Regions from separate parts of the Homo sapiens genome. Here region 2 is linked to region 1. The links are contacts of gene promoters, found by promoter capture Hi-C in blood cells and fetal thymus (Javierre and others, 2016). All regions are on one chromosome and are shown on one strand. The core of a region is centred on a gene start or on the middle of the fragment in contact, and the rest is flanking DNA. Distances in the headings are between cores, read along the strand shown. Region 1 holds the start of DEFB118 (defensin beta 118). Region 2 has its middle 2.4 kb from the start of HM13.

Region 1 (3,911 bases), core at 1,048-3,547:
GTGCCTGTAATTCCAGCTACTCGGGAGGCTGAGGCAGGGGAATCGCTTGAACCCCCGAGGCAGAGGTTGCAGCAAGCTGAGATCGCGCCATTGCACACCAGCCTGGGCAACAGAGCGAGACTCTGTTTCAAAACAGAAACAAATACAAAAAAGCAACCACAACAGTAAGAGGTTATTTTATACTCATCAGCTGGGTGTTTGAAGGATTATGGTGATAGAAAAACCCTTGTGTATTTTCGGTGAGAGGGTAGGGAGATATCTCTGTTCCTATAAATGTCACTGATTTCTATTCTTCTTCCCCAAATGTAGGGGCTTTTTAAGATAAAGCATCAAGACTTTATGCTTCTTTCATTATCTTAACTCTTTGCTCCAAGAGGATGGCTCCAATTTATCACTCTTAACACTCAGACTTGAAACCCCAGATCATGTAATATTTCCTTCACTTCCCATATGCTGAGTTTTTATAACTTGTGGATTTCATGTACAAAATCTTTCACATCTGTCTCTTTCCTAGTCTCAATATCTCCACTAGCACTCAAAGCAGACACAATTGCTTTCAAAGTGATCACACAGAATTATTCCTGTTTGTGTCTGGAATTGTAACTGAAGAATTACTAAAAACCCCCAGAGTTGGCAATTTCTGCTGGCAGTGTCCTTTAAGATACACAACTTCTGATTACTGACTTCTGGTTACCCAGAATCCCTTGGGGTAGGAACACAAGCATAGGAAGAGCCAGCAGCAGGAGTTTCATGGTCCCTGGGAAACAGGAGAGGTTTCCCTGTTTCCCTACCCTGAACGCCAGGGTAGACCCAGGCGTTCAGAACGCTGTGTGCAGTGGGAGTCTGAACAAGAGTTATTGGCCTCTCTGCAATGAGGGCAGAGGAATAGAGGAATTAATGGAACAAATATATATTTTTAATTTTCTTGCCCACCCCCACCAGACTTACATTTAACTTGGTTATTTGCCCTCTAGGAATCTATCCTATTTAAGCCCATATCCATATATGTAAATATATTAATGTTTGTACAAGCATATTCATTGATGTCTTGTTCGAAAATTAAGAAATGTCTCAAATGGCTATATATGACTTTATATGGCTTATCCTACAGCAGAACTATACAACTTTACAAACAATAAGGCAGATCTTTAGATGGTGACATGGAAAGATGGCCACAAAATAATAAGTGAAAGAAGAGTGCTGCATAGGGCCGGGTGCGGTGGCTCATGCCTGTAATCCCAGCACTTTGGGAGACCGAGGCGGATGGATCACCCGAGGTCAAGAGTTTGAGACCAGCCTTGCCAACATGGTGAAACCCCATCTCTACTAAAAATACAAAAATTAGTCGGACATGATGGTGCATGCCTGTAATCCCAGCTGCTTGGGAGGCTGAGGCAGGAGAATTGCTTGAACCCAGGAGGCAGAGGTTGCAGTGAGCTGAGATTGCGCCACTGCACTCCAGCCTGGGTGACAGATTGAGATTCCATCTTCAAAAAAAAAAAAAAAAAAAAACACAAGAGTGCTGCATAGCCATGCAGGGAGTGTGCTTACTTCGTTATAAAACAGAAATATTTAGATTCATTTTTATGTAAGTTCGATCATACATTGAAATGCACCTTGAAAAACATAAAGGAGAAACAGGCTCTCTTCACCAGTGATTTCAAAGTTCTGGTCATGCCTTTAGATATACTTAAGAAAGCAGTGATTATGAAAAGCTTAGATTTTCACTGTAGAAGGAAGAAGAAAAGCCAGTTCTGTCTTCCGTGTAACAGCTCTACCAGTGTTTTCTGACTTGTTCACCAAATTCTAGAATATTAGAAAACAAAAAGAACCTCATTATAGCTATAGCAGGACTTTTAGGGCCAAGAAAACATAGCAAAGTGGGCTGCAGGAATCATTTTCAAAAGCTGGCACAATCTGGAAAGAGAACAGATGTGAGCCGAGCTTTCCCCTAGTTTCTTAGGCGGCAACTTGGAATATAGAACCAAGGACAACTCTGGATGGTGGGACTGCCCCTGTCTATTGAGGATAACTTGCTCTACTCCCAGGTTTTACCCCAGCCAGGAGCATAGTCCCAGTGTGGGAACTGTGGAGCTGCCCATGTTGGGGAGTACCGTGACACATTGGAATTTTCATGAGCCAGAACCCACTATACCTCTATTTTTGTATCTTCCCTGACCTCTGATTACCTGGGATCACTTGGGGTAGGAGCACAAGCATAGGAAGAGCCAGCAGCAGGAGTTTCATGGTCCTTGGGAAGCAGGAGGTGGTAGATCCAGGAGTTCAGAATACTGTGTGCAGTGTGAGTCTGAACAAGAGTTTTATTGGCCTCTCTGCAGTGGGGGCAGAGGGATGGGCACAGAACCAGCCGGATATCTAAGAGCTTATCCATGCATAACATCAGTCTAGTGTGTGGCACATAAGCTGAGCATTTGATCCAGGCACTGGGAGGGCATGCAGAGGGTTACAAGTCACAGGTTTTGAGGAGGTGTTTGGAGCAATGGAGAGGGAAGATTCACACTGGGACATCTTCCCTAGCTTTCCCCGATCTCTCATTAGGGCTCAGCCCTTCTTCACAGCCCCTCTCACTCTAGCATAAACCTACTTTTGAATGGTCTACTTATCTGTGTGTCTCCCCGCACCAGCCTGTGAAATTCCTGAGAGTAGGGAACGTGTCTTTCATTTTTGAGCCCCCAAGGCACGAAGCATGCTCTCAGTGAAGGTTTGTGGAAATAAACGATAATGAACACATGTCAATCTATAAGCCAAATCCCTCTCTTACATATGTGCCCAACAGGGAAAATGACTTGCCCAAGAAGTCACTTGCTGCAGAAGTTTGAGGGAGATCATTTATAAGACTCAAAGGGGGATGCTACCCAATGTCATTAAAAAAAAAATTCCCTAGCTGGGTGTGGTGGTGGGTGCCTGTAATCCAAGCTACTCAGGAGGCTGAGTCAGGAGAATCGCTTAAACCCAGGAGGTGGAAGTTGCAGTGAGCTGAGATCGCACCACTGCACTCCAGCCTGGGCAACAGAGTGAGACTCTGTCTCAAAAAAAAAAAAAAAAATCCCTGCTGAAGACAGATCTACAATAATTTGGGATGTTACCTTTGACAACGGCACCATGAGGGTCATCAGAGGTCTGGGAGCTGTCCATGAAGACCCCAACATTTAGACTTGCCTTTGGGATGTGGAACCTCGATGTCACCCCCAGAGTCAGCCTAGGTCCTGCATTGCTTTAGTTGCATTTTCATCGTGTTTCAACTTTTGCTCCCTCTTGTTTACTCGGCTCTAAAAGTCTCTGTAAAGCTTTTACAGAGGAGGTTGCTGATTTTTCTCTTCTGGAATTGATAACTTTCACTGTGAGAATAATTGATGGGAATTAGCAGGGTTGCCATGTGATTGAGGAGACTTCTCTTCTGGATGGAACCATGTGGAAAGCGTAGCATGGTGGTGGGCTATTTTCAAATTAATTTTGTTTTATGTTTTTATTTTTTTGAGACAGGATCTCGCTCTGTAGCCCAGGCTAGGGTGCAGTGGTGCGATCACAGCTCATTGCAGCCTCAAGCTCCTGAGCTCAAGCAATCCTCCCACCTCAGCCTCCTGAGTAGCTGGGACTGCCCAGGTATTCACCACCATGCCCGAATATTTAAAAAAATTTTTTTGGGAGAGACAGGTCTTACTATGTTGCCCAGGCTAGTCTCAAACTCCTGGGTTCAAGTGGTCCTCCCTCCTTGGCCTCCCAAAGTGCTGGAATTACAGGCATGGGCCACTGCACCTGGCCTCCAAATTAATTTTAGATTAGTATGTTCTAACAGGCAGAACTCTCTTACTATGGAATTGTTTCCCAGAGAGGGAGGGGGTACTCTATAACTCATTTTTCAAGCAGGGTCTAAGTGATTAAATAGGATG
Region 2 (3,911 bases), core at 642-3,141, 140 kb before region 1:
TAAAAGTCTGTAAAATGGGCTGGGCGCAGTGGCTCACGCCTGTAATCCCAGCACTCTAGGAGGCCGAGGCGGGTGGATCACCTGACGTCACGAGTTCGAGACCAGCCTGACCAATATGGTGAAACCCCGTCTGCACTAAAAATACAAACAATTAGCCGGGCGTGGTGGCACGCACCTGTAATCCCAGCTACTCGGGAGGCTGAGGCAGGAGAATCGCCTGAACCCGGGAGGCGGAGGTTGCAGTGAGCCAAGACTGAGCCATTGCACTCCAGCCTGGGCAACAAGAGCGAAACTCCGTCTGAAAAAAAAAAAAAAAAAAAAAAAAAAAAAGGCCAGGCGCGGTGGCTCACGCCTGTAATCCCAGCACTTTGGGAGGCCGAGGTGGGCAGATTGCGAGGTCAGGAGATCGAGACCATCCTGGCTAACACGGTGAAACCCCGTCTGTACTAAAAATATAAAAAATTAGCCGGGCGTGGTGGCGGGCGCCTACAATCCCAGCTACTTGGGAGGCTGAGGCAGGAGACTGGCTTGAACCTGGGAGGCGGAGGTTGCAGTGAGCCCACTGCACTCCAGCCTGGGCGACAGAGTGAGACTCTGTCTCAAAAAAAAAAAAAAAAAAAACAAGAAAAATTTGTAATTTGTAAAACGTTAATGTATAGTTATGTGTTACATAGCATGTTAATGCAGATAAATAGAGAAAAATAAAGCAAAAGAAAGTAAGGTGTGTGTGGAGTTTGCAAATGTATTGAGAGCCTACTATGTGCCAGGCAATTATAATACCTTACGAGTTCATGCCCCTGTACAATTTATAAAGCTTTGTGGCTCTTTTCAGAATTTGAAGAATCTGTTTATTTATGTGATTCTTATTTTTGATATTGTTAAAAAAGTTAAAAATATATATTTTCTTAGACATGGGGTTTTGCCATGTTGGCCAGGCTGGTCTCAAACTCCTAGGTTCAAGTGATCCTCCTGCCTCAGCCTCCTAAAGTGTTGGGATTACAGGTATGAGCCACTGCTTGCAGCCTACTGTGGCTATATTAGATACTGGAACATCTAAGCATCACTGTGTGACTGTGCAAACAAAAAACTTCAAGGAGGGCCTATTATTATTATTATTATTATTATTATTTTGAGACAGGGTCTCACTCTGTCACCCAGGCTGGAGTGCAGTGGCATGATCACAGCTCACTGCAGCCTCTACCTTCTGGGCTTGGGTGATTCTCCCACCTCAGCCTCCCCAGTAGCTGGGACCACAGGTGTGTGCCACCACGCCCGGCTAACTTTTTGTGTTTTTAGTAGAGATGGGGTTTCGGCATGTTGCCCAGGCTGGTCTCAAACTCCTGGGCTCAAGCAATCTGCCCACTTCGGCCTCCCAAAGTTCTGCAATTATAGGCATGAGCTGCCACCTCCCGCAAGAGTGCCTATTTTATTTTATTTTATTTATTTTTTATTTTTTTTTTTGAGATGGAGTCTTGCTATGTCACCCAGGCTGGAGTGCAGTGGCACGATTTCGGCTCACTGCAACCTCCAGCTTCCGGGTTCACGCCATTCTCCTGCCTCAGCCTCCCGAGTAGCTAGGACTACACGCACCCGCCACCACGCTCGGCTAATTTTTGGTATTTTTAGTAGAGTCAGGGTTTCACCGTGTTAGCCAGGATGGTCTCGATCTCCTGACCTCGTGATCCGCCCGCCTCGGCCTCCCAAAGTGCTGGGATTACAGGCATGAGCCACCGCGCCCGGCCAAGAGTGCCTATTTTAAAAAAGATTTCTATGTGTTGAGGCAGTTGTTTACTGCAGAATTAAGCCCACTTTAGGCTTACTACCAGCTTCTATCTAAAAATATTGACTGATAACCGAAAGTGTTCTAAAGGTGGTTATTCTGATCTATAGTTTTTTTGTTTGTTGTGAGACTGAGTTTTGCTCTTTTTGCTCAGGCTGGAGTGCAATGGCGCAATCTCGGCTCACCACAACCTCTGCCTCCCTGGTTCAAGCGATTCTCCTGCCTCAGCCTCCCGAGTAGCTGGGATTACAGGCATGCGTCACCACGCCCAGTTAATTTTGTATTTTCAGTAGAGATGGGGTTTCTCCATGTTGGTCAGGCTGGTCTCGAACGCCTGACCTCAGTGATCCACTCGCCTCGGCCTCCCAAAGTGCTAGGATTACAGGCGTGAACCACTGCGCCTAGCCTCTGATCTATAGTTTTTTAAAAAAGTATTTACAGAAAGTATAGAAGTTTTTGTGAATTTAATACAAGTTAGCCTCCAATTTTCTCTTCTCAAATGTTTGATTTATAGTTTTTGCTCCTTTACATATTTGCTTTTTTAATTTCAAGATTTGTAATTTTACCTTCAAAACAGTTCATTTTTAAAATTGTAAAGCATGTTTAACATACGCAGAAATAGGCTGGGTATGGTGGTTCACGCCTGTAATCCCAGCATGCTGGGAGGCCGAGGTGGGTGGATCGTGTGAGCCCAGGAGTTAGAGACCAGCCCGGGCAACATAGCAAGACCACATCTAAAAAATAAATAAATAAATAAAAAAAAGTCAGTATTTTGAAATTATTTGAGCTCAATGCAGTTCTACTCTTTGGAAGCAGATTAGCTAACTGAATCTGGTGCTCTTGTTGAATAGAAATAGGTGATGGGAAATGTCTATCATTTGACTTTATAAGGATAAGCAAGATTTACCATGATGCTTTGATTTGGGGGTGGATTCCAGTCCATCATTGCCCTGGCACATGTCAATTAGTACACACAAAATTCAATGTCAAATCCAGAGCCTCAGAGGAAAAAATTTATTCCCCAAGAGAACAATGATAACATAACAAAGTAAAATGTTATCTAGATTATATTGGTATTAAAATTATCTCTTATATAAAGTATATTGACTGTAACTATACATAGAAGATTCATAGTAACACCTGGAAGTTCCTTCTCATGTTATATATAAATTGAATTATGAAAGCTTTTTATATTACCTGTTTATGGCCTTATAGATTTAATGTACCAAATGAAAACTTCCCACTCTACCTCTAGATAAGATAAAATCTATATTTATTTTCAAGGTAGAGTTTTAAGTGGCCATATTTCTTAAGCCGTATTCAAAGGAAAATTTTATTTCAAGGCACATTTTCACTCTGTCACCCAGGCTGGAACACAATGGCATGATCACAGCTCACTGCAGCCTTGACCTCCTGGGCTCAAGCGACCCTCCCACTTCAGCCTCCCGAGTAGCTGGGACTATAGGCATATACCACCATGCCCAGCTAATTTTTCCATTTTTTATAGAGATGGGGTTTCACCATGTTGCCCAGGCTGGTCTTGAATTCCTGGGCTCAAGCGATCTGCTCACCTTGGCCTCCCAAAGTGCTGGGATTACAGGCATGACTACCATGCCTGGCCACTCAAGGAAATTGTGTCTTAACTAAGTTTGAATGCTGTTCCTCTTCATTTTGTATATGAAACTTCAGCTGATTTAATATTGACATTCATCATCTAGTCAAACCCTTCACATGTTCTTCAAACCAACCAAATTTGGGGTTCTTGACATTTTCTGTGTCAATAAAATTAGATGTGGATCTTATCTTTTTTTTTGAGATGGCGTTTTGTTCTGTCACCCAGGCTGGAGTGCAGTAGTGTGATCTTGGCTCACTGCAACCTCTGTGTCCCGGGCTCAAGCAATTTTCCTGCCTCAGCCTCCTGAGTAGCTGGGACAACAGGCACCCGCCATCACGCCCGGCTAATTTTTGTGTTTTTAGTAGAGATGGGGTTTCACCATGTTGGTCAGGCTGGTCTCAAACTCCTGACCTCGTGATCTGCCCGTCTCGGCCTTCCAAAGTGCTGGGATTACAGGCGTGAGCCACCACGCCCAACCAAGATGTGGATCTTATATTTTATTTTGAGATGGAGTCT

Evidence for each region. The method cuts DNA at HindIII sites, captures the fragments that hold promoters and counts their contacts. A CHiCAGO score of 5 or more calls a contact.
Region 2: a contact is called between a fragment that was not itself captured here and the fragment with the promoter of DEFB118 in region 1, in 2 of 17 cell types (M1 macrophages and endothelial precursors). The highest score is 6.1, in M1 macrophages.

Annotation. Positions count from the first base shown.
Region 1 is chr20:31,366,987-31,370,897 of GRCh38, reverse strand. It overlaps DEFB118 (defensin beta 118), which reads right to left and starts at 2,297. Exons shown (of 2, transcript NM_054112.3): 1 at 2,190-2,297. The coding sequence starts at 2,247. The HindIII fragment of the contact is 1,593 bases long and covers 1,718-3,310 here.
Region 2 is chr20:31,510,041-31,513,951 of GRCh38, reverse strand. It overlaps the pseudogene CD24P3. Among named protein-coding and RNA genes, the nearest start is that of HM13, 2.4 kb to the left of the region's middle. The HindIII fragment of the contact is 2,150 bases long and covers 817-2,966 here.